Regions from separate parts of the Homo sapiens genome. Here regions 2, 3, 4, 5, 6 and 7 are each linked to region 1. Evidence: promoter capture Hi-C in 16 types of primary human blood cells and fetal thymus (Javierre and others, 2016). All regions are on one chromosome and are shown on one strand. Each heading gives the region's core, a stretch centred on a gene start or on the middle of the fragment in contact. The rest is flanking DNA. Distances are from core to core; before and after follow the strand shown.

Region 1 (3,768 bases), core at 578-3,077:
TCACTGATTACGACTGAAAGACTCATGACAAAATACAAATGGCAACTACCTGCCGCCTCTGAAAAGTAAATAAAGAATTGAGGTAGGGAGTCAAAACTTAGAAACCTGCAAGGGGATGAATTTCCTGGCTTTTTTCTTCTTTTCTTGTGGTTTGTCCTGAGGAGAGACCCCAGCTGGGAACTGTTGGGTGGCATGGGTAGCTAAAACTCGAATAGAAATCTCATCTTTCTGTGCTGAAAGGAAATAACGGTTAGCCCAGAACTCTATTTTCAGTGAAAATATTTTCAGGAATCAAAGTGAAATAAAGACATTCTCATATGAAGGAATGCCAGCTGACCTGCTCTAAAATAAATGCTTGGCGGGCCGGGCGCGGTGGCCCACGCCTGTAATCCCAGCACTTTGGGAGGCCGAGGCGGTCGGATCATGAGGTCAGGAGTTCGAGACCAGCCTGACCAACATGGTGAAACCCCGTCTCTACTAAATAAAAAAATTAGCCGTGCGTGGTGGCACGCGCCTGTAATCCCGGCTACTCAGGAGGCTGACGCAGGAGAATCGCTTGAACCTAGGAGGCAGAGGTTGCAGTGAGCCGAGATCGCACCATTGCACTCCAGCCTGGGCGACAGAGCGAGATTCCGTCTCAAATAAATAAATAAATAAATAAATAAATAAATAAATAAATAAATAAAAAAGAAATGCTTGGCGGGGCATGGTGGCTCATACCTGTAATCTCAGCACTTTGGAAGGCCAAAGGCAGGCGAATCACTTGAGGTCAGGAGTTCGAGACCAGCCTGGCCGACATGGTGAAAACTCGTCTCTACCAAAAAGCGCCACAACACTCCAGCCCGGGCGACATAGGCTCTGTCTCAAAAAAGAAAACAAACAAACAAAAAAAAAAGTGGGGGTGCGGGTGGGGGGAAGACTTAATGACTAAACGAATAAGTCTGGAGAGACGGGTTGCAAGGGATGATGAGACTAAGGTTTGTAGTCTGGGAGCCTAAGTGGATGAAAGTTGGAAGAATCAGGTGGAAAAGAACATTTCAAATAGACCACAAAGAAAAGTATATAACATTTTGAGGCTGTGGTACGCTTTGTTAAAGAGCAAAAGGAAAACAATTCCTCAAATCAGGGGGGAGGGATAGCATTAGGAGATATACCTAATGTTAAATGACGAGTTAATGGGTGCAGCACACCAACATGGCACATGTATACATATGTAACTAACCTGCACGTTGTGCACATGTACCCTAAAACTTAAAGTATATAAAAAAAATTCCTCAAATCGATGCCACGCTCCACTTCTTTACAACGATGGAATTATTTCAGGAATTGGAATTATTTCAGGAATTGTGTTTGAAACCACAGCTTTGGATCCCGATTTCTTTCTTGAGCTACTGTTACACTGTTTATATACGGCCACTAATTCGATGACTGAGCTTGGGCAGATTGTTAATTATTTTCTATGACTTAATCTTTCTATCTGTACAACGGGGATAACGTGGAATTTGGAGTGTTGTGAGGGTTGAGATAATATACGTGATAACTTACACAATGACGTTCAACAAATACTTGTGGAGTGAAAGATGCGCGATTCATTGACAGATCTCAGGGATTTCAGAAAGCTGTATAAGGACCAGCTCTTCAGGCTCCCTTCGCTCCCCAGGAGACCGGGGAGCCGGCGCGAGGCGCTACAGTGTAATTCTTGGCCCCTTTTCCTCATAATGGTTTGGCCGCATTTTTACCTCTTGATTTCCCTGGTCCCAGGCTGCAACTTCAGCTCGCTCCGCCATGGGGCGCACGTCCGCCAGCCTCTGTGAGCTCAGCTAAGTATGATGCCTAGGCTAGAGAGCTACGTCCGGTCTCCTAGGCAACCATATCAACTTCCGGCTTGAGGCACGATAGCGGTTGGCGAGAGGCCACATTTCCGCCACGTGACCCGCGCATGCGCCTGCTTGCTGGAGAGCGAGCGTCTTTTGCCACGAACACCTGCGGCGTGCCGAAGTTCCTCTTCTCTGCCCCGGTTCCGGGCGGTCCGCTGGGAGGTGGCGCCCGGAGGGACACCCGTGCCTGGGGTCGGGGCCAGTGCTCTTCTCGGAGCTCCAGAAGTTCTGCTGAGAAGCGCGGCGGCAGCAAGACGACTTCTCCGGAGCCGCCGAGCTGGAGTTAGAGGTGGAGCTCCGTGGGGCCGGGCCCCCGGCTGCGGGGCAGCGGCTCCTGCAGGCGGAGGCCCCGGCGGAGAATGAGCCGGAGCCGGAGGTGGTGGTGGTCTCCTGGCAGAGCGGTGGGACCGGGAGCAAGCTGCGGTGGTTCACCACCTTGATGCTGTGTGCCTCCTTCCTGGGGCTGGTGAGAGCCGGGGCTGCAACACTCCCAGGCCGGGGCGTTCGAGTCTTGCCTTCGCCACTTGCAAACTGACCTTGGGCGCGTTACCTAATCTGACTGGGCCTCAGTTTCATCATCTAGAAAATGGGCACAATTCTAATCTTGGAGGAAATAGATTTTCTGAATACGTCTTTCAGCTCCAGCAAGCTTTTTTTTTTTTTTTTTTTGACGGAGTCTCGCTCTGTTGCCCAGGCTGGAGTGCAGTGGTGCGATCTCGGCTCACTGCAACCTCTGCCCCCAGGGTTCAAGCGATTCTCCTGCGTCAGCCTCCCGAGTAGCTGGGATTACAGGCGCCTGCCACTAAGCCCGGCTAATTTTTGTATTTTTAGTAGAGACGGGGCTTCGCCATGTTGGCCAGGCTGGTTTCAAACTCCTGACCTCAGGTGATCCGCCCACCTCGGCCTCCCAAAGTATTGGGATTACCGGCGTGAGCCACGGCGCCCGGCCCGGCAAGCCTTCCTACGTCTCCTTCGTCGGATGGGAAGGTTGCAAGAGGGGTTCACCAGGTCTTTGGCCGCTGCTCTCCGCACCCACCCACTCAACCCCCAAATTATTACACAGAAAAACTACTTTTCTGGAATTTCTTCCTGGTGATCTGACCAAATTCAGCCAACCGCTTAATTTTGCAGATAAGGAAATAGGCCCGGAGGGGAAAGTGACTTTCTGGATCACACAGCTGGTTAAGTGATAGAGCCAGAAATATGTCTTTTACTCTGCCCACCATCCTATTTATTAATAAAACCAACCTTTAGATTCTTAAATGTTTTTCTTGGAGCAAAGGGCAAGCCTAGAGGCGCCTTTTGCCAAACCCCTGGGTCGCCACTCAATTCACTTTTCGGAAACCTCCTCCTTATCACTTGATAATTATGATCCTGGGGGAGTTGAGAGGATGAGTCCTCCCAAGAGTCATGTGTGGTCACTTACCATCTCAGGGACTCTGAGCCACAGTTGTTTCTTAGAGTATTTTGATTGGGGGCGGTGGGGAGGGGTGAAGAAAGAAATCACTTCAGACTTTTGGTGAGTCGTCACTGACTTGTCCGGTCCTGTTGTAAATCCTTTGAAGACATGAACTAATTTGATTAGATTCTGTGCTCAGGCTTCTCTCGAAGTACGAGGTGCTTGCTGTGCACCTGGGCCCATAGTGGTCCGTGGTCTTGGACTGTTACGAGTTGGGCAGGGGGCGCACCCCATGCATTTAGAGCAGAGCAGGGCAATTAGAATCAGTTATTCTGGAAATGTAGACTGATTGGAAACATTTTTTTCTTTAAATGTCCAATGAATTTCCTCTGAAAGTCAATTGTAATCCTTACCTCTTGCTGACACTGCATTGAGTAAAGTTTTATTGTTAAAGTCATTCTGTACTTGGGCGTGTAATATTTTTTAAGCAAC
Region 2 (3,768 bases), core at 852-3,351, 450 kb after region 1:
AGTTTTAGAGCCTGGAGGGAAGACTGAAAACAGGACTCCACTCACAAGGCAGGGAGGGTATGTGCCATTTTAAAATCCTTGTACATTAGAGATAAGCCTTTCATCCCCTCTGACTAATCCACAGATTTGAATGACAAGCCAACTTCTTCAACTCGTTATCTTACCTTTGGTGGTTTCACTCTCGCGGATAAGAAAGGTACCTCTTGGGTTTCCAAAGGACAATAGCTGTCGCTCAGCATCTTTTCGGCCAAGTTTTCCAAAGTACCACCTTTAAATTAGATCAAGGAAAGAAAATATTTTGAAATAGTCATTTACAAAATGCAACAGCATAGGCTTTTTTTTTGCCCATGAATTCCCCTCTCCTCCAATTTAGTCCTTAACCTTTCCCTGGATGTATTTTTTTTCTAGCTTAATTCAGTTCCTTTTCAATCTATCCTGGATTCTATCCCTAATTCATCTCTTTCACTCTTTAAAAAAAATCAGATTTGAGTTGTGGGTTGTTTTCCTCCCCTCTAGACATGACCAGAACTGGTTTGTGTTAAAACTGCCACCTGTATGCAAAAAACCAGAAATCTAAGACCTTGATTTGAAATGGTTACTGCAGGAGACCCTTTCCACACTTATCTAAAAGACTCTAGTCTGGGCATGGTGGCTCATACCTGTAATCCCAGCACTTTGGGAGGCCGAGGTGGGCAGATCACCTGAGGTCAGGAGTTTGAGATCAGCCTGGCCAACATGGTGAAACCCCAGCTCTACTAAAAATACAAAAATTAGCTTGGTGTGGTGGTGGGCACCTGTAATCCCAGGTACTCGGGAGGCTGAGGCAGGAGAATCACTTGAACCTGGGAGGCCCAGGCTGCAGTGAGCTGAGATTGTGCCATAGTATTCCAGCCTGGGTGACAGAGCAAAGCCGTGTCTCAAAACAAAACAAAACAAAAAAAACAAACGCCAGGCATGGTGGCTCATGCCTGTAATCCTAGCACTTTGGGAGGCCAAGGTGGGTGGATCATGAAGTCAGGAGATGGAGACAATGCTGGCTATCATGGTGAAACCCCATCTCCACTAAAAATACAAAAAATTAGCTGGGTGTGGTGGCATGCACCTGTAATCCCAGCTACTCAGGAGGCTGAGGCAGGAGAATTGCTTGAATCTGGAAGGTGGAGGTTGCAGTGAGCCAGGATTGCGCCACTGCACTCCAGCCTGGGCAACAGAGCGAGACTCTGTCTCATAACAAAAAATAAACAAAAAAACAAAACTCTTGAATCTCTTGATATCTAAGCATTATTGTAACTGCTGGGAAATAACAAAACACAGTCTTAATGTATATGAAGATAATCAAGCATTAAAAAAAGTCAGATTAGATAGATATGATATGAATAAAGGAATAGTATTTTCAATAACTTCCTCCCTATAAGAATTCTGAGAAAAACGCCCATGAGTACTTACTTGTATTTTGTTTTCCTCCCCTAGGTGTGTGAGGACTTGGATAAGTAAAGGCATTTATTTACCAAGCACCTGGATTGTGATCTGTGTTCATCATCTTCTTCTTCTTTTTTTTTTTTTTTTCTTGAGACAGGGTCTCACTCTGTCACCCAGGCTGGAGTGCAGTGGCATAATCATAGCTCACTGCAGCCTTGACCTCTCCAGGCTCAAGCAATCTTCCTACCTCAGCCTCCTGGGACTAAAGGTGCACATCACCACACCTGCTAACTAAAAAAATTTTTTTTGTAGAGGCTAAGAGTGGTGGCTCATGATTGTAATTCCAGCACTTTGGGAGGCTGAGGCAGGCAGATCACCTGAGGTCTGGAGTTCGAGGCCACCCTGGCCAACATGGTGAAATCCCAACTCTACTGAAAATACAAAAATTAGCTGGGCATGGTGGCATGTGCCTGTAATCTCAGCTATTCGGGAGGCTGGGGCACGAGAATTGCTTGAACCAGGGATGTGGAGGTTGCAGTGAGCTGAGACAGGGCCACTGCACTCTAGCCTGGGGACAGAGTGAGACTGTCTCCCTATGTTGCCCAGCATGGTCTCAAACTCCTGGGCTCAAGTGATCCTCTCGCCCTGGCCTCCCAAGTGCTGGGATTACAGGAGGGAGCCATCACGGTGGACCCTGTACATCTTTTCTTTGGCACAACTGTAAGAACTGGTTACTGTACACCTTTGAGATCTGTGCCCAGTCAAAAAGCATGCCCTTAAAATGACTTGGTGTTGCAGATATTTCAATATATTATCCCTGAAGAAACTAATGATACTCTGTGCCACTTTAGGAGGCATCACATTAAGTCACCTCAAGACTTTTGTTATTTGCCTTATATCCTCCCCCTGCACTTTCAAGCCTTAACCAAGCCTGGCAATTAGTTACTATTTCAGCACTAGGTGCTGAATGAGCAGCAGGTGCCCCCAAAACCCAAGGGAGAATGCTGGAGCATTCAATTGGAATCTGTGTGTGGGAACCATTTTTAGAATATTTAACTGTGAAAGAATCCAGATTCTAAAATGAAATTTCAATTCATTATGCTTGAATATAGGTATCATGAGTTCACTGTCAAATTCTTTTGTGAATTAAGTTTCACTGAAGAAAAGAGACATTGCGTATTAGCTCCTCAGTGACTTTTAGAAACACCAAAATGTGCAACAATTCTTAATCTAGCATTAGGTGGCGTAAAGACTAGTACGTCAATTATTTGTGAGAAATGGCTTTCTGGGTTTGTACCAATAACCCAATTAGAATGCCGTGTAAAACAGTGGTGAAAAAGGAATTGTTAGAACAATGGATTGCACCAAAACAATAGTATTTTAAGATAATGATAGTTAATTGCATATGTAAAACCGAAGGCATTATTTTAAAAAATAATATTCTTTAAAAACAAAATATTTAAAAAGTTGACCATTATAAAAATAACTTAAATATATAGCTGACAAATTCCCAGTTAAATCAGGGTAATGCTACATTTTGGTGGTACTTTTTATTCTGAAAGAACACAAAGATGTTTGCAAATCTGCCCTAAAATACAAATTAAATACAAATACCTTGATTCACTGATGACGAAACACAGTCACTAGGAGAAAGAAACAACTAAGAACCACTGAGTATTTGAGAGTGGGAAACAAAACAGATCCTCTTAGAGGAAATACAAAGGAATTAAAGAATAGAACAATCCAACTGGGGATTTGGCTAGGGTGTGGAGTCTAATCCCTCTTGCACTACTTAAACAAATCCATGGTGAAATTAAATAGCAGAGCCAAAGGTTGGGCTTGGTGACTGACTTTTCTCAACTTCCTTTTTAGAGAGGCAAGACCCAAGGTGTCAGGAGGAGGCCAAGTTCCTGCATTTGGGAAATCATGGCTCCATCTCTCCTTCCCTCAGGGCTGGCAAACAGCCACTGGCAGTTCTTCCCCTTGGGAGTGCCTGTTAATCCTCATGGGTCAGAAGAAGGGAGAAAGGTTATCCCTTTTAGATCCCTTCAGCCTACTGAACACCTTCCTAAACTGCTACCAGTTGAATAGTTGGGCCAAATAACTGCTCGTCACTGTTTACTACCAAAGAAGCCAACTGAGGTTCCAAATCACTGTAGTATTTCCCAAGTTGGGGGGACACACTGTATGTGAGTCACTTTTACCGGGCATAGAAGGTGTCTTTTCAGCACTCTTTTAATATTTCTGATCACACTTAGGAGAAAAATCTTAGTTTAATCTGTGGCAATTACTTGCTACTCTCCCCTCTCTTCCCAACAGAGGGAGTGGACTGCGGGCTTAGAAACTTGG
Region 3 (3,768 bases), core at 839-3,338, 430 kb after region 1:
TTTAAAATCACAGAGGGTGACCATCTGCTTCCTTCTTGATGATTACCAAGAAACGTGGGCTGCACAGACTGAGGACTTGCTCTTGACCATTCATAAACAACCATCAAAAGGCTCTGCCCAAAACAGCACAAAGGAGAAAGAGATGCTCACACAGAATACAAAATGGGACTGACCAGCACAGATAAAGGGGAAAGGTGTGCAAAGAAGCTGGGCTTGAGGTGACCACTGCTTACCTCCAATCCATTTGTATCCTCTGGGCAGAGTCAGAGCTGCCCGAGGGTGGGAATGAAAGAAATTGGTCCCATCTCCGACCTGAAACAGTTTTAATCTTTAAAGAGAGACTGTAGTAGGAAAGGGTGATTTAGAGTCCCTTTTCTTTTAATTTTCATCTTTGGCTTTCAACACACCCTTTCCGGGAGGAAAATGGATGCGCTCTACAATTCATCTCCATTTCCCTGCCAATTTGACCTGCTCCCCCTAACTATTAATCTGGGCCCCGAAGCTCCACGGTGGCTCAGCAGATAAACAAAGCCGTCCCTCCCAGAAACGAGGTGGAAGCTCAGAGCTTGAAGCGACAGAATACAAATGAAGGAGCTTTTCTGCTTAGTGACTGAAGTGTACCAAACTCGGATCCGGGAAGCTTGATTACAAGCAGCACGGTTCAGGCATGCGACTCAGCTCAGCGGGAAAGCCGTGTCTGACCTCGGAGGGCAGGGCATTCTGTCGGGCAAGTCCCCTGGGGTCTCTCCCTAGACAGCCCTCAGGATGATAGACTCTCAATGTGGGCTGGGGAGGTGGGGGTTGGCATGGTCATTTTATGGCGGCACCACTGAGTTGGGAACACACTAGTCGGTGCTTAAGACAATGGCTTGCATTTTAAAGGGTTTGCTTTTCATGAAAGGATGGTTTGCTTCTCTAGCATGGGAAGAATTAGATTAAATTCAGTAATTAAAAAGGTTTTTTTTTTCTTCCTTTTCTCTCTCCTGATATTTGCTGTTCAGGTCACAGCACACTGTGCGGGAATGGCAATGCTGTTGTTGACAGAGAACAAGAAATTCATGTGCTGACGGGGGCAGAGGGAGGGCATCTCACGGCGAGATCAGCCTTGATCTGCCACCGGATTACAGGGGCCTCAGAAGCGGCTGATTAATAATTCTGCAGGAGCCCTTGAGCTGGAAAGCTGGCGCTCTGAGTCTAATAATCCCCAGTCGTTGTAATACAAAGGAAGGACAGGAATTGAATTCACAGTTCTGGATTGTGAAATTCAAAATTCGAAAGAAACAGGGATCCACTTCTTCCTGAGTGTGTTTGTCAACCTAGCTGCCTGCTTGTTTGTGTTAAATGGCTACTGTGCTTTTTGAATCTAAAATCTGATTATATTTAATTAGTACAGGCATCTGGGATTTCTAATACACAAAGAGTTATTAAAGTAACAAATCTTTCTAAAATATGTTTTCTATGAAAGAATGTGTTAATTTATGCGGTAACAATTTTTTAACATGAAATAATTAACATGAAAACTGCAACAGTTAGTAATTCTTCGTAGTCTAATTTATACTTGAATTTTCCTCCAGACAATAATCTATTCAATTTAAACCCTCAATACTGGGAGCATTTGAACAGACACATTTTTCTTCTTCTATTTAATACATAAGCCTAAACTTACAGCAGTCTTATACAAAGACCCGAATGTTCCTATTTTTATTTACAGTCCAAAGATCCAAAGATTATGTTTCCTTGACATTTGTTTCATTAATTTTGAACTTAAAAAACAAACCAACCAAAACCATAGAGCAACCCCAGTTCCTGTCCTTCATGAGGATTCAAATCAGGAGAAAGGATGATAGAGGCAGAGCCTCCATGTGGAAGGAGCCCTGATGGGAGCGATCAGGAAAACCCAAAGTGGGGTGGGTGGGTGTGTGTGTGTGTGTGTGTGTGTGTATGTGTGTGTCAGAGAGAGAGAGAGAGAGAAACACAGCTATTGGCATCCATTGGATCAATATTATAATAATATTACTATTACTACTACTGCCAACTACCACTATCAGCTCAGTGTTGGCTTTGTGCCAACTGCTTTATGGTTATTCACAGGGAAGCCATACAATTCTATGATATAGATAACTATTATTATCCCTATTTTAAGAGGAAGAAATAAAAGCTCAGACAGGTTAAGCAACTTGTTCAAGGTCTCACAGTGAATTGGCAGCAATGCTAGGATTTATACCAAGACACTTTGATCTCATGGGTCATGCTCTTAACCAGTCCAGGCCCTGCCCTCTTTGGGAGGGGACTGAGGTGTATGTGGGAAGAAGAAAAGAGGTCAAGCTATCCAAAAAAAACCCAAAAAACAAAAAACAAACCAAAATAAAACAGAACAAAAAAACTCCAAAGTGTTGTGGGGAGGAGCTGGAAGAAGTGAATAATACCAACAACTTCTACTAATTGTCTTCTTGAATTCTTACAACCACCTTAAAGGTAACCAACACCAATCCTATTTTATGATGAGAAAGGTGAGGCTCAGAGGGGCCAGAACTTATGCTCTAGGAATACGGCGTCAGGATGTGAACACAGGCTTATCTAGCTCCAAAGCTCTTGTGCTTCCCATCACTCCAAAGACAATCTTGGAGTGTGCAAGGAATATCAATGCAATAAACAACCCTTTCTGGAGGTTCCTGCAGCCACAACAGCATTTGATTCCCAGAGAGAGCCATGCACATTGATGAGAGACAGCAGGAGAGCATGTCTCACAAGAGTGTGGGGGGGTTGGTGACCTTGGTTATTTCCATTGCTGTAAACAAATATTTATTAAATACTACTATGTGCTCTGTGTCTACAAGGGCCCGCTGCTAGTCTTTAAACTAAATCACTTCTATAGAGAAGCAGTAAGACCGACTCCACAGATACTCGGGAGAACTGCTCCAGCCGTGCCCACGCAGCGTGTGTGTGCTCATGCAGCGTGTGTGTGCTCATGTGTGCTCATGTTGATGTGTGTATGCACATGCCTCAGTGAAAATGCTGAGAAGGCCCATCTGATATTCAGACTTCACAAGATTAAAAACAAGAGAGGCAGCGCAGAGGCAGGGATAGTTCTCAACAGAGAATGCAAATATGAGAAAATAGGCAAGCTGGCCGGAGATGAGGACAGTGGATGTGTGACTCCCCGCTGTGTCCGGGGTGAGGGGGCCCTTGGAGCATGCAGGTATATCAAAGTGGTGACTGCCCAGATCCACTGACTGGCCTAGGCTATAAAATAGGGAGACAGTATTTTTTTTCTTGAAAGATTGATTTTTTCCCTATTTATTACTAATAGTGATTCTCTTTAAAAACTTTTTAGACTGTTTTCAAGGAAAATGTATGTCAAATACAAAAAGTTGAGGTGATAAGGATGATTTTTACATTTCACAACTCTCAAAGAACTTTTATAGATAGCCCATGTAAGTTTCACACTAATGATGTGAGGTGATCATTTTTATTATCACCATTTTACAGATGATAAAAATGAGGCTCAAAGAGCTTAAGTAACTGGCCTGCGGACACCAAGCTTGTAAGTGACAGAGCTGATTCAAAGCCAGGGATCCTAATGTCCAACCCCTGGTTCCTCAGTCTCACTAGGCTGCCTCACTAGCAGCTTAGAGGCAAGTACAGTACTGGCAAATGACACACTAAGTGTGTATTCACCTTTTTAAAAATATGTCCACAAAATCTGTTAGGCAGTAACTGCAATTGCTAACCTAGGTTTGCCCTGTAATTACCAATTCCACTGGAGAA
Region 4 (3,768 bases), core at 731-3,230, 390 kb after region 1:
GCCAAAAATGTGCCCTTTGATCTTCATCCCTTTAATCTGAAGTATTCTCTAAATGCATTTCCATTTTAACGAACAATGCCTTCTACTGGCACAATTCTCTTTATTGAAGAAACTCAGCTTGTGTTTCAGGATTCCAATCCTTGGATTAAATTCATTGTCATATATCAGTCCTAATGTGTGCCAGGTTCCTACCCTCAGTGAGCTTAGTGGCAAGGAGCAAAACTCAAGGATGTATGCTAACAACTGCAGCCAGCAGTGCTGTGCAGTGACTGCCTTCAAAAGACCAGAGCCAGGAGCAGGGCGTTCTCAGAGGGTGGCCATCACTAGACATTTGAGTTGAGTCTCAAAGAGTGGATAAGCTTTTAAGAAGAGGAGGGAGGGAAAAAGAACAGTCCAGGAAGGAGGAAAGAAAGGAGCAGTGCAGAGCATGCTTGCAGAGTTGTGGGTAACTCAGTGTAGCCAGGAGATAAGGCAGGGGTGATGGTGGAGGTGATGGGACAGATGAGCCTGGCCAGACAGTGGAGCCAGACTGTAGTGGACCAAACTCCCTTGGATTTGCTCAAGTAAAGAGCTGATGTACACAATGCTTCAGAGGAATCTCACAGAAATGATGTGGGGTAGCGCTATTGGACCTCCAGATGCTAGAGCGTGGACAGTAGCTATTCCCAGTCACTCTCTCTGGTGGCCCATGGTTTCTTGCCACTGCTTCTCTCTGCACGCTGTGTCATCTGATCACCCATAGGGCAACTCTAGCCCTGACTTAAGCCAACCTGCAGGCCAAGCATCTGTCACCACGGTCTCTTGATTCTTGGATCCAACTGGACAGAGACAATTTGATTAGCCAGTGGCCAATGGACTGTTTGTCCCTTGGTCAGGTGTCTACCCCTCAAATATCAGCTGTTCTGGTCGGGGGCAGGGTGGGGGTGTTATACAGTGAAAACACAACCTACTGTGCTCACCCTTCAATAGAGGGGATAGTGTGTGTGGAAGTTGAAAGAAAGAGGCGTGGCTGGGCAGGTCCTCCAAACAGGTCTCCTTCCATGACAGTGGGGGTCAGTGGGAACTACCACATTTTTTGAGGAGGAAAATAACATAATTAAAGCTGTAATTCTGGAAGATTACTTTCTACCATGTGAAGGATAAGACTGAAGGGGAAGGAGAAGTTGCCAACACGTATCAAACATATACCACGTACCATATACCTGGCACATGTATCTGTGTACCTAGCCCCTATGATGCTAGATACTGTTTGCATATTACTTTTTCTAGTTTTCACAAGAGCCCATTTTATTTATGAGAAAACTGTAATCTCAGTGCCTTGGGAGGTTCAGGTGGGAGGATTACTTGAGTCCAGAAGTTTGAGACCTGCCTGGACCAAAGAAAACACACACACACACACACACACACACACACACACACACACAAAATTAGCTGGGTGTGGTGGTGCATGCCTGTAGTCCTAGCCCCTAGAGAGGCTGAGGTGGAAGGATGGCTTGAGCCCAGGAGTTTGAGGTTACAGTGATGAGCTATGATTGTACCACTTTATTCCATCCTGGGTGACAGAGCAACCCTGTCTCTTTAAAAAATTAATAAATAGCCCAGGTGTGGTGGCTCAAGCCTGTAATCCCAGCACTTTGGGAGGCCGAGGTGGGTGGATCGCCTGAGGTCAGGAGTTCGAGACCAGCCTGGCCAACATAGTGAAACCCCGTCTTTACTAAAAATACAAAAAATTAGCCAGGCGTGGTGGCTGGCACCTGTAATCCCAGCTACTCGGGAGGCTGAGGCAGGGTAATCACTTGAACCAGGCAGGCAGAGGTTGCAGTGAGCCGAGATCACACACCATTGCACTCCAGCCTGGGCAACAAGAGTGAAACTCCATCTCAAAAAAAAAAAAAATTAATAAATAAAAAATAAAAGAAGCCAGAAGGGAAAGTGAAGTAACTTGCCCAAAGTCACACAGCTAGTTAGTCAATGGTAGAATTGTGATTTGAACTTAAAAGCTGTCCAGACTTGAAATTCACACCAAGCCTGAAACCTACCGGGATAGCCCCGTGTGCCTCTCTGCAGGTGCCTCATGTGCTGTGAGTTCGGACTGAGCTTGTCATCTTCTGCCTGTTTTCTATTCCTTTTCCATATCACCATCCTCCCAGTCACCTAAGCCCAAATCTCTCTAAATCTCAGTCTCCTTGTCTGTAGAACAGAGATAATAATAATGTATCCCAAAGGTTGTTCTGAGAATTAACTTAGAGGATTCTCATGAAGTGCTTAGCACCATGCATGGTGCTGTGGTGTTGCCAGCTGTCCCCAACCTTTTTGGCACCAGCACCAGTTTCATGGAAGACAATTTTTCCATAGCCTGGTGGTGGGCATGGGGGTGGGGGGAGGGTTTCGGGATGAAACCATTCCACCTCAGATCATCAGGCATTAGCTTCTCATAAGGAGCCTGCAACCTAGATCCCTTTCATGCAGTTCACAATAGGATTCAGACTCCTTTGAGAATCTAAATGCCACTGCTGATCTGACAGGAGGTGGAGCTCAGGCAGTAATGCTCACCCACCTGCCGCTCATCTCCTGCTGGGCGGCCCGGTTCCTAACAGGACACGGATTGGTACCACTCCATGACCCAAGGGTTGGGGACCCCTGGTGTCCGCAGAATTGACAGAAAGAGCAACTTATTGGCTGTGGGGAACCAAAGGAGTATGACTTGGCGTTTTATTTATCTAATACAGGAGCTGGCAAACTTTTCCTAAAAAAGGCCAGATAGTAAGTATTTTCGGCATTGTAGGTCATATAGTCTCTGTTGCAACTACTCAACTTTACCATTGTTGGGCAAAACCAGCCATGGACAAGACATAAATGAATGAGTGTGCTGTGTTTCAAGAAAACGTTATATACAAAAACAAGCAGGGGCCGACTGGACCCAAGGGTTGTCTTTTGCTGCCTCATGGTCTTTGCCCTGCCTCATCTCATGAGGGCGAGGCCATGTCTGCTTAGTTCATCGATTTTTCTCCAGGGTCTAGTGCAGTGCCTGGCCCATAGTAGACATTCCATAAATATTTATTAAAGGAATGATTAAATGAGAGAAAGCAAACAAGCAAGAACAAAAGAAAGACTGAGAAGAGACAAAACTTTGGGATCACCTGGATATCTGTTACAGGGTTCTGTGTAGGAAATAGAAACCATGCTAGAGTTTTTAAGCAAAAAAGAATATAACATGAAGAATTGCAAACTTGTTGGAAAGGCTGGAAGAGAGGGCTCTAGGCTGGGCCTCCGAGGATGGCTCCCAGAATGTGGTAAAATCAATCTGTCAGGGGTGCTATCACCTCTGCCACAATCAGGAAGGAGGACTCAGGAAGCTGCCACTGGGACTGTTGACTGCAAGAACATCATGGCTGCAAGACAAGGCCAGAAAGTGGTCAGCAAGCCAGGAACAGCGTGAATTACTGCCACCACCGCATTTGCCAGGCAGAGGAACCTAGCCACTGCCACGTCCACAAGATTCTTGATGCCCATGAAGCTGGAGAGTGGCTATCAGTAGCTCCATGATCTTGCTTTGCAGCAGAAAGTAGCCAAAAGCTGCAAGACATTGGCCTCTGCCTTCCAAGCTTTGTGCAAATAAGTCTAATTGGTGTAGCTTAACTCACAATCATGATCCTAATGAAAAGAGACTCTGGGCAGTGTAGTTTTTAGCTTCCTAGACTCTGCAGCACCAGGAGGCACCCTAGAAAGATGTGGGAATGGATTCATGCAACATTTAGCATAGAGTAT
Region 5 (3,768 bases), core at 682-3,181, 370 kb after region 1:
CTTATGTTCTTGCCTAAAAAAAAAAATCAATTTTAATAGGAAAGCTTATTTTTCAAGATGGTGGACTGGGCACATGGGTTTCTGCCACTCCCTCCCAAGGACCCATTAAAATGATAATGAACACATTTTAAAAGGGTATAACCTTATAACATGAAGACAGTCGAGGAACAGGAATCAGTAGACTATGAGAGAAGGAGGATAAGAGAGAGGACAGTTGATTTTCCAAATAAGTCCTCCTGTACCATTTGCTTTTTTAATCATGTAGATATATCACTTTGATATACAAGATTTTTAAGTTGGAAGGGACCTTTGTTGCCTTGTTCCTACTCCAGCTTTTAATTAAGACCACATTTCCACCATTCTAAAGAGATGATCTGCGATCCTATTTTTAACAACACCCAGAGAAAGGCAACACAATCCTCTCCTGAACTGAGCTGTTTCATTGTCTGATAATCCTCATGTTTTTGATTCACATTTTCCTTGCAGCCTGAAGGTGATCATGTACACCCAGGAGTAGCCCAGCTCTGTTCCATGAAATGAAACGTCCAGAGCTGTCCGCTTTATGTTTTATATGGCAACACATTTCTATGTGTGATTAAGAAACAAAACAACAAAGTGGGGAACGTACTAAGCTTATCAAAGTACAATAGTTGCTGCTTCACCAGAAAAACTAGTGCTTTCATTCTATTTCTGGCGCTGTTAGCCTGACCCTAGGGAACCAAAGACATTTTGCACTGAAATAAAGAATAACACTTAACAGCTATAGTCAAGCTCATGACAAAATTGTGAAATAGGCAAAGTTTTTTACTAGGATTTTCCCATCATCTCTGGCTGGGTGTTTCTCCTCTTACTGTCCCCTCGCTCAGCTCCAAGGCAACTATTGCTCTCTAGGTGCCAGGAAAACAAAACAAACTATTTTACACTAAAGTGTCATTGACTCCCTGTGAGTTCTACCCCAAGGACATTTGTGTTCTATATGAGTCTGTATGCAATCAAGAGAGAGAAACTATACAGTAGTTTGAACAGGGAAAGTGTAATATAAAGAATTACTCATTATAACAGGAGACTAAAGTAACAAAGAATTGATTGGTAAGATGTAAAAAGAACTCTAAAGAATATCCGAATGGCAGCTATAAGGAGCAGCCACTACCTTTAGAGCTGAGATAGAGGCCAAGAAAGAGGCCCCCCAGGGCTGAGATCCAGACTTTTTGAAGGCTCAGCTCTGGCATAGGGGATGACAGAGAGAACAGAGAGGTGAAACTTCCTGGAAATCCATCCTCTAGGGTGTCCGGAAAAGCTGATCACAGGAAGATATTGTACCAGATGCATTCTGCAACAAAACCACCCAAGGTGAGTGAAGTGCCCAGGAAGCTGCTGGCCACTGGGTGCCTCTGGTCACCATGCATTATAGGAGCCAGGCATAGGAGAAGCAGCCTGTGCCACAGGAGCCTGCTAAGCTTCAGGTGTCTGCCAAGCAAGCATAAGGGAACCAGGACAGAAACCCCTTCCTCCTGCAGTGTCTCCCCAGACCCCTCTACTGAAGCCGCAAACCACAGTATATATTTAAATGACTAAACATATATACACACAGCTTAACATTGTGCCAGATGCAAGAGAAAAATATCTGAAGGGCACAGCTCCATTTTTGAAGATCATGCAATGAATGGTGAATTTAAAGTCAAGAGGCCACAAACTTATAACCAGCACATACTGTAAAAGAGAAAGAAAAGATCAAGGCAATGTTGAACCCAATGGGATGAATTTCTAATGGTAAAGTTCCAGAATAAGCAGGCTAGTGAAGGTATTTTGGAGATGAAGAGCTTTCTAATGGTCCACAAATCACACTATATAGATGACATAAATGTATATCACAACTGATGGGATTATTAAATGCTGCTTCAAGGCAGGAAAGGGATGCTGTCAGGCCTTGAGCTCTTAGTTCAAGTTCACCTCCATTCCTAGGTGTGTCTAGGACTGACTAGTTGCCACCAATTCCATTTCTGCTTTCAAGCACACGAAGAGAAAATATTCCCCAGACTTCTTGCTGCTAGGTGGGGCATGCAACAAGTTCTGGTCAATTGAATTTGAGCAGAAAGCCATTTCCAGATCTGGCCCCTAAAACATCCCATTAGACCATCAGTTCACTGATGGCCAGATGAAGGTAGGGGATCCAGTAGAAGGCTCCAAAGGAGTTCTCGGGGATGGTGGTGCCCTAAGGTGAAAAAAGCCCAAGTGATAACTTAGAGGAGAGATACTCTGGAGAGCTGCTCAAATCACACTGCACTAGAGTATGACTGAATTGTGTTAAGCCTCTGATATTACTGGAATTTTTATTACTGTAGCTAGTGTTAATTACCCTGACTGATACACTGTGCAAATTAAGAGCCCTAGGACAGTCTCATTCTTAAGCTTAAATAGCAGAGAGATAGTACTCATTATTCCTTTAGTTTGAGCTTGTCAGAATGAGGAAGCTAGATCATACATTCTCTTTGGTTCTATGTATGTTAGGTGTGGGATGTCTGAGTCCCAAAGTAATTTACTGTGGCCCAGTGTGGAGGGCAAATCGTGGCAAACCGGTCACTGCACTGAATAGACAAAGACACTCTGAAAATAAAACATCAGGGCATGTTCTTCTCTCGCTTCTGGGAATTAGTTATTTGTATAAAGAGGCTTGACATGGAGGCACACAATAGAATGTGTGACGGAAGGGACCACTTTCCCTGTTAAAGCCCAGCCCCCACTCTGTCAGGTAGCTCCACCCGGGTCCACACTGTTTGCCCACTGGAAGAGCTTCCAAGGTCTGGGCTCTATTGTTCACTGATGAGCAGAAATAGACTTGGTCACATATAATGCACAAATATTTTTAAAGTGCCTTATTTTTCATATTTAAATTATATTAAATGTATATTTATATTAAATATGTATATTAAATGACTATATACACACACATTTCCCTCCATTTTCCCCTTCAGATAACCTCCGAATATATATGGACTTTTTTGGGGTATGAATGGATGAAAAAGGAAAGATACTGCACATAGGTATCCTTCCAGGTCAAACGAGTGAGATCTACTTCTGCAGCCTCCTCTGATCTCACAGCTGTCAGGCTATAAAGTCAGCCAGAGAACATCTCTGAGACCTCAGCTGGGGAGAAGCTATCCCCTGACCGCTGAGATTCAAGACCCTCTGGAGAACTGCCCTGACCCTCAGGTGGTTTCTTTATGTGACGCCCACAGAGTTAGCACGGATTTCCTGAAGGTCTGCATCCTGTGATCCAACACCTCGTGAGTAAATCATTTTTAACAGCAGCATGGCACAATATAAAGTTTATGGAGGATGGACGTAAATTTGGTTCTGGAAAAAGCATGGTTCCCTGTGGTGACAGGCAGCTGGGCTGGTGTGCTCAAACACCCCCTTTATTGGATCGCAAATGATATCAGCTGGAGGCCTTGCTAGCCCCTAACAGAACACACAAAACAAGGATCTGAGAGAGAGAGAGCCAGTCCCATGCTAGCACCTAGGATCCCAAATCCAAACTTGGAGCTGCTTTTCCTACTATGGAATGTGCTCAGTATAGGAAATCTGTTACACTGAAGGCAGCACCCTCTAACTCCCTTTTTGGAGGTTTTAGTCAATTCCAGAGAAACCAGGGTTAGAAAGAAGGAGGCTGGAGGGGGAAGCGAGAGAGAGAAAGAGAGAGAGAGAATTTTATTCTCCTGTCTATTGACACATGAGTATGTGGTTCTACTTTAGAATTCTGTTTTGGGA
Region 6 (3,768 bases), core at 658-3,157, 320 kb after region 1:
TCCTGACCTGAAAAGTCTATATTGGGCATTCCACTATGTGACTTGCTCACTAACGTGGGTTAGCAAACCTATAGAGAATTCTGTTACATCTTCATTGCATTGGCATAATTCCTTTCCATGTTAAAAATGCCTGAAGGTTGGGCCTGTCATACTTACTGGTGCCTTGGAAGCCCCGGAAAGGAGCAGTCTCTCTGTGCGGGCCTCTCTTCGTGGTCCCAGGGGCTGGGATAATTCAGGATAACCTTCTGCACAGGGTGCAGGCCTCTCACACTGGCTCCAGGCAGGGGCTGCCCAGGCAGAGCCGGCTGGATCACTTGCTGGTAGGCTGCTCGAGGGTAGTCATGGCCATCTGTAGGTGAAGACAACAAAGACAACAGGGAACATCAACTCTAGCTCCTTCGTGTGAAAGGAGTCATAAGCTCCATGCTCATTTGTGTCTTGATCCCAGCTGAGGGGTCCAGATATCTGTTACCACCTCTGTGATGTTTGCCGTATTTCTCTACTGTTAATTACTTGAGTGTTTTCACGAAATTCACTTTTTTTTGTCCTAAATAAAAACATCTGCGAAATCACCAGTTTGGTATTCCAGCTGGAGAGCTCAAAAAACTTTTCAAAAAACTCTACACAGGCTCCTCTTTTCGTAAGATACTTAGGAAAATCCAACCATGAAGAACCTCTTTCACACCACCATTCCTACCACAATTTCCTTCATGTCCCGAACCCAAGGCTAGGAAAAATTATCTGTATGATAGATATAGAATCACTGCTCTGTATTTTCCTCCCCCAAGTGGACATACACGTGCATGTGCACACACACGTGCGCGCACACACACACCCCACTCTCCTCTTAAGAAGAGGTAAATGAATGAAAACTTGGCTCATCCTCCTGGGAACTAGCCAACCAACTGGCAATACCCTCCAACTCCCTTGGTCCTCTCCTGCTACAGCCTACGTGCACTTGGAGCCAGGGCTGCTTGAAGAGGGCTGGGCTCAGAGCAAAGCCAGAGCTGGCAGTGACTTATGTGAATGTGCAACCTGGGAGAAAGTGGGTCCCAGCCAGGACCAGGAGCAGGAGGGTCCCCAGGGAAGGGCAGCCTGCTGCTGCCAGAGTTAAGCATAGGAGAGACCTAATGCTTAATCACGCAAAAGAATAGAACTAAAAGCCCAGAGGAGAGATGCAGGGAACCAAGTAAGGGTGAGAGGGAAGGGCTCTGAGGGAATGGCCCAGGCCCAAAGGGGGTAAGGTGTTGGGAAATACGAGAGATGCAAGAGGACTGAAGTGAGCCACATGGTAGCCCTGCAAGATGAGCAATGAGCACCTCCTAGTGATCCAAGCACTGCCCCTCCTACCCACATAAGCAGTAAGACGATCCAGGAGGAGGCGTAACTAGTTAGGACAAGAAGGAAGGTGTTTTGTTTTGTTTTTTAAAAATCCTCATTGATCTTAAAATTATTTTGATTCTTTTAAGATCAACCCTCATTGATCTTAAAATTATTTTGCTGATTATAAATGTAATAATCAAGTTTGCCTGCCATGTAGATAGGATACATATATGGATGTACAGCAAAATAAAACTGGCAAGTAAACAAAAAAGTGACTGATAGGTTGAAACCAAAATGAGAAGCTGAGAATGTGGATAAAAATTGATTCTTAAGGCCAGGCGTGGTGGCTCACACCTGTAATCCCAGCACTTTGGGTGGCCGAGGCAGACAGATCACCTGAGTTCAGGAGTTCGAGACCAGCCTGGCCAACATGGTAAAACCCCATCTCTACTACAAATACAAAAATTAGCTGGGTGTGATGGCGCGCACCTGTAACCCCAGCTACTCAGGAAGCTGAGGCAGGAGAAACCCTTGAACTTGGGAGGCAGAGGCTGCAGTGAGCTGAGATTGTGCCATTGAACTCCAGCCTGGGCAACAGGGCAAGACTCCGTCTCAAAAACAAAAAAAAGAACTGTATTCTTAGCTTGGCAAAGCAGTCAGGAGCCATCTACGTTTTCAAAGGAACATTCAGGGGAATGATGGCCTCAAGTACAGAACAAGAGATAAATAATGTGCACGTTCACTAGTGTGGCCTCCTCCAGGTTCCCAGTGCCTAGACTCAGGAAACTGTTTGGGTGACCTGGCGATGTGCCCAAGCTAGTCTCTCAAGTGTGGTCAGATTCCCTGGACTCAATCTATTATTGTCTCCTTTGACCCATGTCACCACCTGGGTCCTTCCAGTCATGCTTCTTCTGGCAAAAGTGACCATGCCCCTCCATCCCAGACTGTCTCCTGGCAGGACCCCATGACCCTTGCCCTGATATTGCTTAGGCCTGGTCATGACAAGTAGTAGGGGTTTAAAGAGGGGGAGGAGGAGAAACAGATCTGCCTAGATCTATCCCTGCACCTGGATGACAAAGGAGACTGGGACTTGAAGGGACTGTTCTCAGAATGGAAGACAGGCCCACAGAGACTCCTATGGTCTAGGACAAGGTCTACTGCACAGGCTTCACCTTGGCAGCCTTCTCAGGGCAGGGCGGATATATTCCAGGGGGTCCAGATCACCAGTTGCAGTTTCAGGGCAACAGAGCAAGTCACTACTGCTCCTTTCCCTCAGTTTAAAAAATAGCAAAAAATGCCACTGCTATCAGGTCCCCAGGTAGGGGCCAGCCCTGCTTTTCAATGAGCCTTGCATGAGCAGACCCTTTACAAACCCAGCTGTAGCTAGAACCGTCTTGGTGGACTGCACTTACAATCCACCCTGCTAGATCAGGTTCCCGCCCCTGTAGATCTTGCCTCCCACTACACTCTCACTGGCCCACTAAGCTCTGGCTTCATTTTGAATATCCCAAACTTGTCCTCTCCTTTGGGATCCTGAGTTTGCCACCCTCTTTGTCCAGAATGTTTTTGCCCTAGATTTTCACAGACTGACTTCTTGCCATTCAGAGCTCAGCCCAAATATCACCTGTCCAAAGAGTCCTGCCTCTTCACCCAGTTACTTTATCCCATTCCCTATTTTGCTTTCTTCGTAGTTCCTATCATGGGTTTGCATAAGTAAGCATGACTTTTACCTGTCAACTTCTTGCCTGCCTTCCCTACTAGAATATAAGCTCTGTGAAAGCATGGACTGTGTCCTCTTACCACCATGTCTCCAAGGATAGTACTGGCACCCAGGGGATGCTCAATAGATGAATGAATGAAGGCTCAATAGTTACAAAGCCAACTTACAGAAAAAGAGAAGCCATTTAGGACTGCACAATCTATTAATACTTTCTAGGGCACAGGTCTCCTAGACCAGGGGCTCCCAACTCCCAGGCCACAGGCTGGTATCAGTCCATTGCCTGTTAGGAACCAGGCCACACAGTAGGAGGTAAACAGTGGGTGAGTAAGTGAAGCTCTGTCTGTATTTACAACCACTCCCCATCACTTGCATTACCGCCTGAGCTCTGCCTCCTGTCAGATCAGCAGCAGATTCTCACAGGAGTGCAAACCCTATTGTGAACTGCGCACATGAGGGATCTAGGCTGCACGCTCCTTATGAGAATCCAAGGCCTGATGATCTGTCACTGTCTTCCATCACCCCCAGATCTAGCTGCAGGAAAACAAGCTCAGGGCTCCCACTGATTCTACATTATAATGAGTTGTATAATTATTTCATTATATATTACAATGTAACAATAATAGAAATAAAGTGCACAATAAATGTAATGCACTTGAATCATCCCCAAACCATCCCCATCCCCAGTCCATGGAAAAATTGTCTTCCATGAAACTGGTCCCTAGTGC
Region 7 (3,768 bases), core at 777-3,276, 300 kb after region 1:
CAGGGTGACCAGAGCACACAGCATCTACAGAGGGTGATGAGAGAAAACTACGCAAGGGGACACAGTCCTCTTCTGAGAGGCCTCATAGATCGTGCTAAGAAAGGTGGATATGATCTTGTAGTCAATGGGAAAACGGCACAAAATTTGTAAGCTACCAAGAAACAGATCAGACCTACATTTTGGATGTTCCTCTTTGATGGCAGAGGAGAGGATGGCTAGCACAAGGTCAAAGTGGAGATGAGACCAGTAAGGAGACTCATCAGTAAGTGACAGCAGTGAGACCCTGGGCAAAGGCAGCGCAGGGAGGATAGAAAGGTGTGCCATCGCACAGGCTGTGCACCATACAGCCTGAGGTGTCCCGTTCCCATAAACTGGAGCCTCCCTCATCCAGGGCAGGGGTCTCAGTGCAGTCTTGACATCTGAGGATCCCTCCAGGGTGAAACAGGGCCTGAGTTTAGGGTGCTGTGGTCTGATTCTCAACATGTTTACTCCACCACTGCCTTCCCTTTGCCAAGCATGGAATGTGGCCTCAGGTGGTTTTGCCCCCATTCTCCAAACTTGCTGGCAGACCCTTCTGGTGTGAAAAGCCTCATATGAATCACGGCAAAGTTCACTCAGGTAACTATAGATTTAATTCCTGTAATCATTAGCTTTGAGAGCTGAACTATGTGCAATGAAATGCCTCCCTGGAACAGCCAGCAAAAACCATACACATCTTGACTTTTATGTACAAGAGATAAGAAGTATGACATGAACCTTCTCTTTTTCTTTCTTGAGTTAAAACAGAAACTACATCTTTGTGTGCAACGGTTCTTTGAACAATTAGGACAGCAGTGATCCTATCAGATAGCTTTAAAACCCTCCTGATTCATACTGCTGAACTGAGTGGTACAACTTGTTGATCTTTCTGGTAACATTGTTATCTCTAAGGATTGATAAAGAATTGATGGCAGACATGGTGGTTCATATCTGTAATCCCAGCACTTTGGGAGGCTGAGGCAGGCAGATCACCTGAGGTCAGGAGTTCAAGACCAGCCTGGCCAACATGGTGAAACCCCATCTCTACTAAAAATAAAAAAAATTAGCCAGGCTTGGTGGCAGGGACCTGTAATCCCAGCTACTTGGGAAGCTGAAGCAGGAGAATCACTTGAACCCAGGAGGCAGAGGTTGCAGTGAGCCAAGGTCACGCCATTGCACTCCAGGCTGGGCAACACAGCGAGACTCCATCTCAAAAAAAAAAAAAAAGAAAAGAAAGAAAAAAAGAATGGACAAGGTTTTCCATTTAAAATCCCAGATGGCAAAGCAAACCAAAGATTGAATTATGAGGATTTTGTTTCTTTGTTTGTTTACCTTCTTAGCATTTGGGAAGAGCACAGGGATGAATCTGAAATTCATGCTTCCTTGTTTTATGAACTCAATCTGCATCTGAAACCAAACAAATGTGAAGGTTTAATTTCAGGAATGAGGATGAGGAGTTAATGGTACCCATAATCATGCACGTCCACATGGCATTTTTATTCTGATTTCCATACTTGAGTGCCACACACTTAACATTTTAAGGCCTCCCCATTACACATCTATTCCATTCACTCATCAGTCGTTTATTGGAGGCCTGTTAGAAGTCACATTCTATGTCAGACTTTGGGTTTTAAGGATTAGGATACCTTCCAGGGTATGCTGGAACTGGCTTGCAGCAGCTCACAAAAGCTTGTTGTGTGCATCTCTTCCTAATTCTGTGTTCAGTGACTTCACACTGATAGCTTGAAATTGGCGATGGTATTGGAGAGTATTTATACCATGGAAATAGGTAAGTGCTACAAATCAGGAGAGCCAGCTTAGCAGAACACCACAGATACAGTCCCTATCTTCACAAAGCCAGCAGTCTAGTGAGCAGGCAGAAAGGGAAATTACCAACCAGAGTGCCGGGTGAAAAGTATTAACAATTGCTCTAGAAGCCCAGAATGGGGGCCATCCATTCTACATCAGAGATTGGAAGGACAGTTACAAAAGAGGGTTCATTTGGGCACTGAAAGAAAAGATTTTGGTCAAGTAGGGAAAACAGAGGCAGAGGCAACAGCATGAGCAAATGTCTGGAGGTGTGAAAGTGTGTTGATGTGGTTGGGACCAGCTACTAATGCACTGTGACTAGAGCACAAGATGGGCTTGGCAGAGAGGGGATGTCAATTGCGAAGAGCTCCATCTGCCAGGCTTTAGGTTCCTCACACCAGTTCCAATATGCTCTGACACTGTGGTAGCCCAAGAAGATTTAGCTACCAAGAACTCTCTCAAAAATCAGAATTTTCAATAGGAGGGGAGTTAGAGTCTTCCAAATCCTGTGACCAGCACAAAGCTTTCAGTCATCTGATGAGAAGGAGACGAGGAATTATGTGTTTCCAACCATTTCATCTTCCAATTCATTTTTATAACTGAGAAGTTTTCATTGTGCATGGAAATAACAGAACAGAGAAGAAAGTGACAGTGGTGATAGCTGGTTATTGAAATCACCATAGAAACCCCTCATAAACACACACTCTCACATAGTTGCATACGCACACACACACACACACGATCACACAACACACACAAATCCTCCACAAGGTGTTTTTTCGGAACCACCTCTCTCTAAAAACCATAAGATAACACCAAGAACATATTTTAAAATGACCCAAGTACTGTGCAGCTAGAAGCACCCACCACACCAGCACCGAGTACACATGAAAGGAAGGGGATGGGGTGCATAAGTTACAAGTGAAGCACTGAGTTTTGTTTGACTTCTAGGACTCCGTATACTGTGAAGTTTGGCTTGTGCACTAGGCTGCCCAGCCTGTGGAGGGGCCAGCCAGCAGCAGTGCATTTTTATTTTCTCTCACCCTTCCAGAAACTGAGTTTCTGTAAACTAATTCACTGTATGATGCAGTTACTCATCAGTACCTCTGCACTACCTCTGTCATGGCCAAGTTCTTGTTGTTCCAGGGTTTTCTGTTGCCTAGAGGGGTGCAGGAAGTCAGCCAGGCAGTCAGGAAGGCACTTCTGTGTCTGACCTCTTCGACCCCTTCTATGATGAGTAAGGGCCCAAGACATTGTGGCCCAAGAAACCAAGTTTGGCGACAGTTTGGTTCCAGTTGGTACAGTCAGACAAGCTCTGAGGCCAAGCTGTGTATTACTGCCTGGCTACACCACACACCCACAGAGCTAGACAGGTTTCCTTAGGAACTGGCTGAGGCCTCGAGCCCTTCCCACGCACCAGCTGTCAGCTTCTGGGACTGGCAGGTTCCTAGAGATGCAGACAGGACATTGGGTGCTCTGAGGCCATGCAGACATGCATCAGACAACCAAGGGCCGGCAGCACCCCGAGCCAGCCATGACCTTTTCAGGCAGTTTACTCCCAGGAATGATACCTTTCCGGGGCACTGTACAAGGGCTGTGAGACTGGTTGAGACCAGAAGAGGAGGGAGCCTTATCTCCTGACTCCCTGGCCTCACTTTTTAACCTCATCACCTTGCCTCGGCTCTTCCTTCAGTTTGGTTGTGAGCTCACGTGAGTGGTCTGCACTTGGTGGAAAGGGAGACAGAGACCATGAAGACTCAGATGGGGAATACCCACCCTCCTACTTTCCCACGCTGCTGACCCACAGGACAGACCTGGGACCTACATCTGCTTCCCCTGAGGTAAAGCTGTGTGCCCCGAGACAGCCTGACTGTGCCCTCCCCATCTTCCCATCTTAGTGACACTCTATGCCCATTCCAGGTGCCTTCCCCCTCATGAAGT

Evidence for each region. Contacts are between HindIII fragments. The CHiCAGO score rates a contact against its expected background, and 5 or more counts as called.
Region 2: a fragment that was not itself captured here is called in contact with the fragment with the promoter of SLC60A2-DT in region 1 in 2 of 17 cell types (naive CD4 T cells and non-activated CD4 T cells); the score reaches 5.7 in naive CD4 T cells.
Region 3: a fragment that was not itself captured here is called in contact with the fragment with the promoter of SLC60A2-DT in region 1 in 1 of 17 cell types (endothelial precursors); the score reaches 6.3 in endothelial precursors.
Region 4: a contact is called between a fragment that was not itself captured here and the fragment with the promoter of SLC60A2-DT in region 1, in 1 of 17 cell types (neutrophils). The highest score is 5.4, in neutrophils.
Region 5: a fragment that was not itself captured here is called in contact with the fragment with the promoter of SLC60A2-DT in region 1 in 1 of 17 cell types (neutrophils); the score reaches 8.9 in neutrophils.
Region 6: a contact is called between a fragment that was not itself captured here and the fragment with the promoter of SLC60A2-DT in region 1, in 1 of 17 cell types (neutrophils). The highest score is 5.3, in neutrophils.
Region 7: a fragment that was not itself captured here is called in contact with the fragment with the promoter of SLC60A2-DT in region 1 in 1 of 17 cell types (neutrophils); the score reaches 5.0 in neutrophils.

The regions. Positions count from the first base shown.
Region 1 is chr6:111,257,385-111,261,152 of GRCh38, forward strand. SLC60A2-DT (SLC60A2 divergent transcript) reads right to left here and starts at 1,828. Exons shown (of 3, transcript XR_001743807.2): 1 at 1,740-1,828. SLC60A2 (solute carrier family 60 member 2) reads left to right here and starts at 1,955. Exons shown (of 4, transcript NM_153369.4): 1 at 1,955-2,343. The coding sequence starts at 2,317. It overlaps LOC124901378 (a long non-coding RNA gene), which reads left to right. Exons shown (of 2, transcript XR_007059708.1): 2 at 1-326. RefSeq lists enhancers at 1,605-1,664, 1,985-2,064. The HindIII fragment of the contact is 14,878 bases long and covers 1-2,524 here.
Region 2 is chr6:111,703,835-111,707,602 of GRCh38, forward strand. FYN (FYN proto-oncogene, Src family tyrosine kinase) reads right to left here. Exons shown (of 14, transcript NM_002037.5): 7 at 165-268. Among named protein-coding and RNA genes, the nearest start is that of TRAF3IP2, 100 kb to the left of the region's middle. The HindIII fragment of the contact is 4,924 bases long and covers 1-3,768 here.
Region 3 is chr6:111,685,691-111,689,458 of GRCh38, forward strand. All of the region lies in intron 12 of FYN (FYN proto-oncogene, Src family tyrosine kinase), which reads right to left. Among named protein-coding and RNA genes, the nearest start is that of TRAF3IP2, 82 kb to the left of the region's middle. The HindIII fragment of the contact is 2,901 bases long and covers 639-3,539 here.
Region 4 is chr6:111,647,535-111,651,302 of GRCh38, forward strand. All of the region lies in intron 2 of LOC105377944 (a long non-coding RNA gene), which reads right to left. Among named protein-coding and RNA genes, the nearest start is that of TRAF3IP2, 44 kb to the left of the region's middle. The HindIII fragment of the contact is 3,246 bases long and covers 358-3,603 here.
Region 5 is chr6:111,627,928-111,631,695 of GRCh38, forward strand. No RefSeq gene overlaps it. Among named protein-coding and RNA genes, the nearest start is that of TRAF3IP2, 24 kb to the left of the region's middle. The HindIII fragment of the contact is 952 bases long and covers 1,456-2,407 here.
Region 6 is chr6:111,580,041-111,583,808 of GRCh38, forward strand. It overlaps TRAF3IP2 (TRAF3 interacting protein 2), which reads right to left. Exons shown (of 9, transcript NM_147686.4): 3 at 157-349. It also overlaps TRAF3IP2-AS1. Among named protein-coding and RNA genes, the nearest start is that of TRAF3IP2, 24 kb to the right of the region's middle. The HindIII fragment of the contact is 9,291 bases long and covers 1-3,768 here.
Region 7 is chr6:111,561,615-111,565,382 of GRCh38, forward strand. TRAF3IP2 (TRAF3 interacting protein 2) reads right to left here. Exons shown (of 9, transcript NM_147686.4): 8 at 1,351-1,425. It also overlaps TRAF3IP2-AS1. Among named protein-coding and RNA genes, the nearest start is that of TRAF3IP2, 42 kb to the right of the region's middle. RefSeq lists a silencer at 719-919 and enhancers at 2,785-3,457, 3,622-3,768. The HindIII fragment of the contact is 643 bases long and covers 1,706-2,348 here.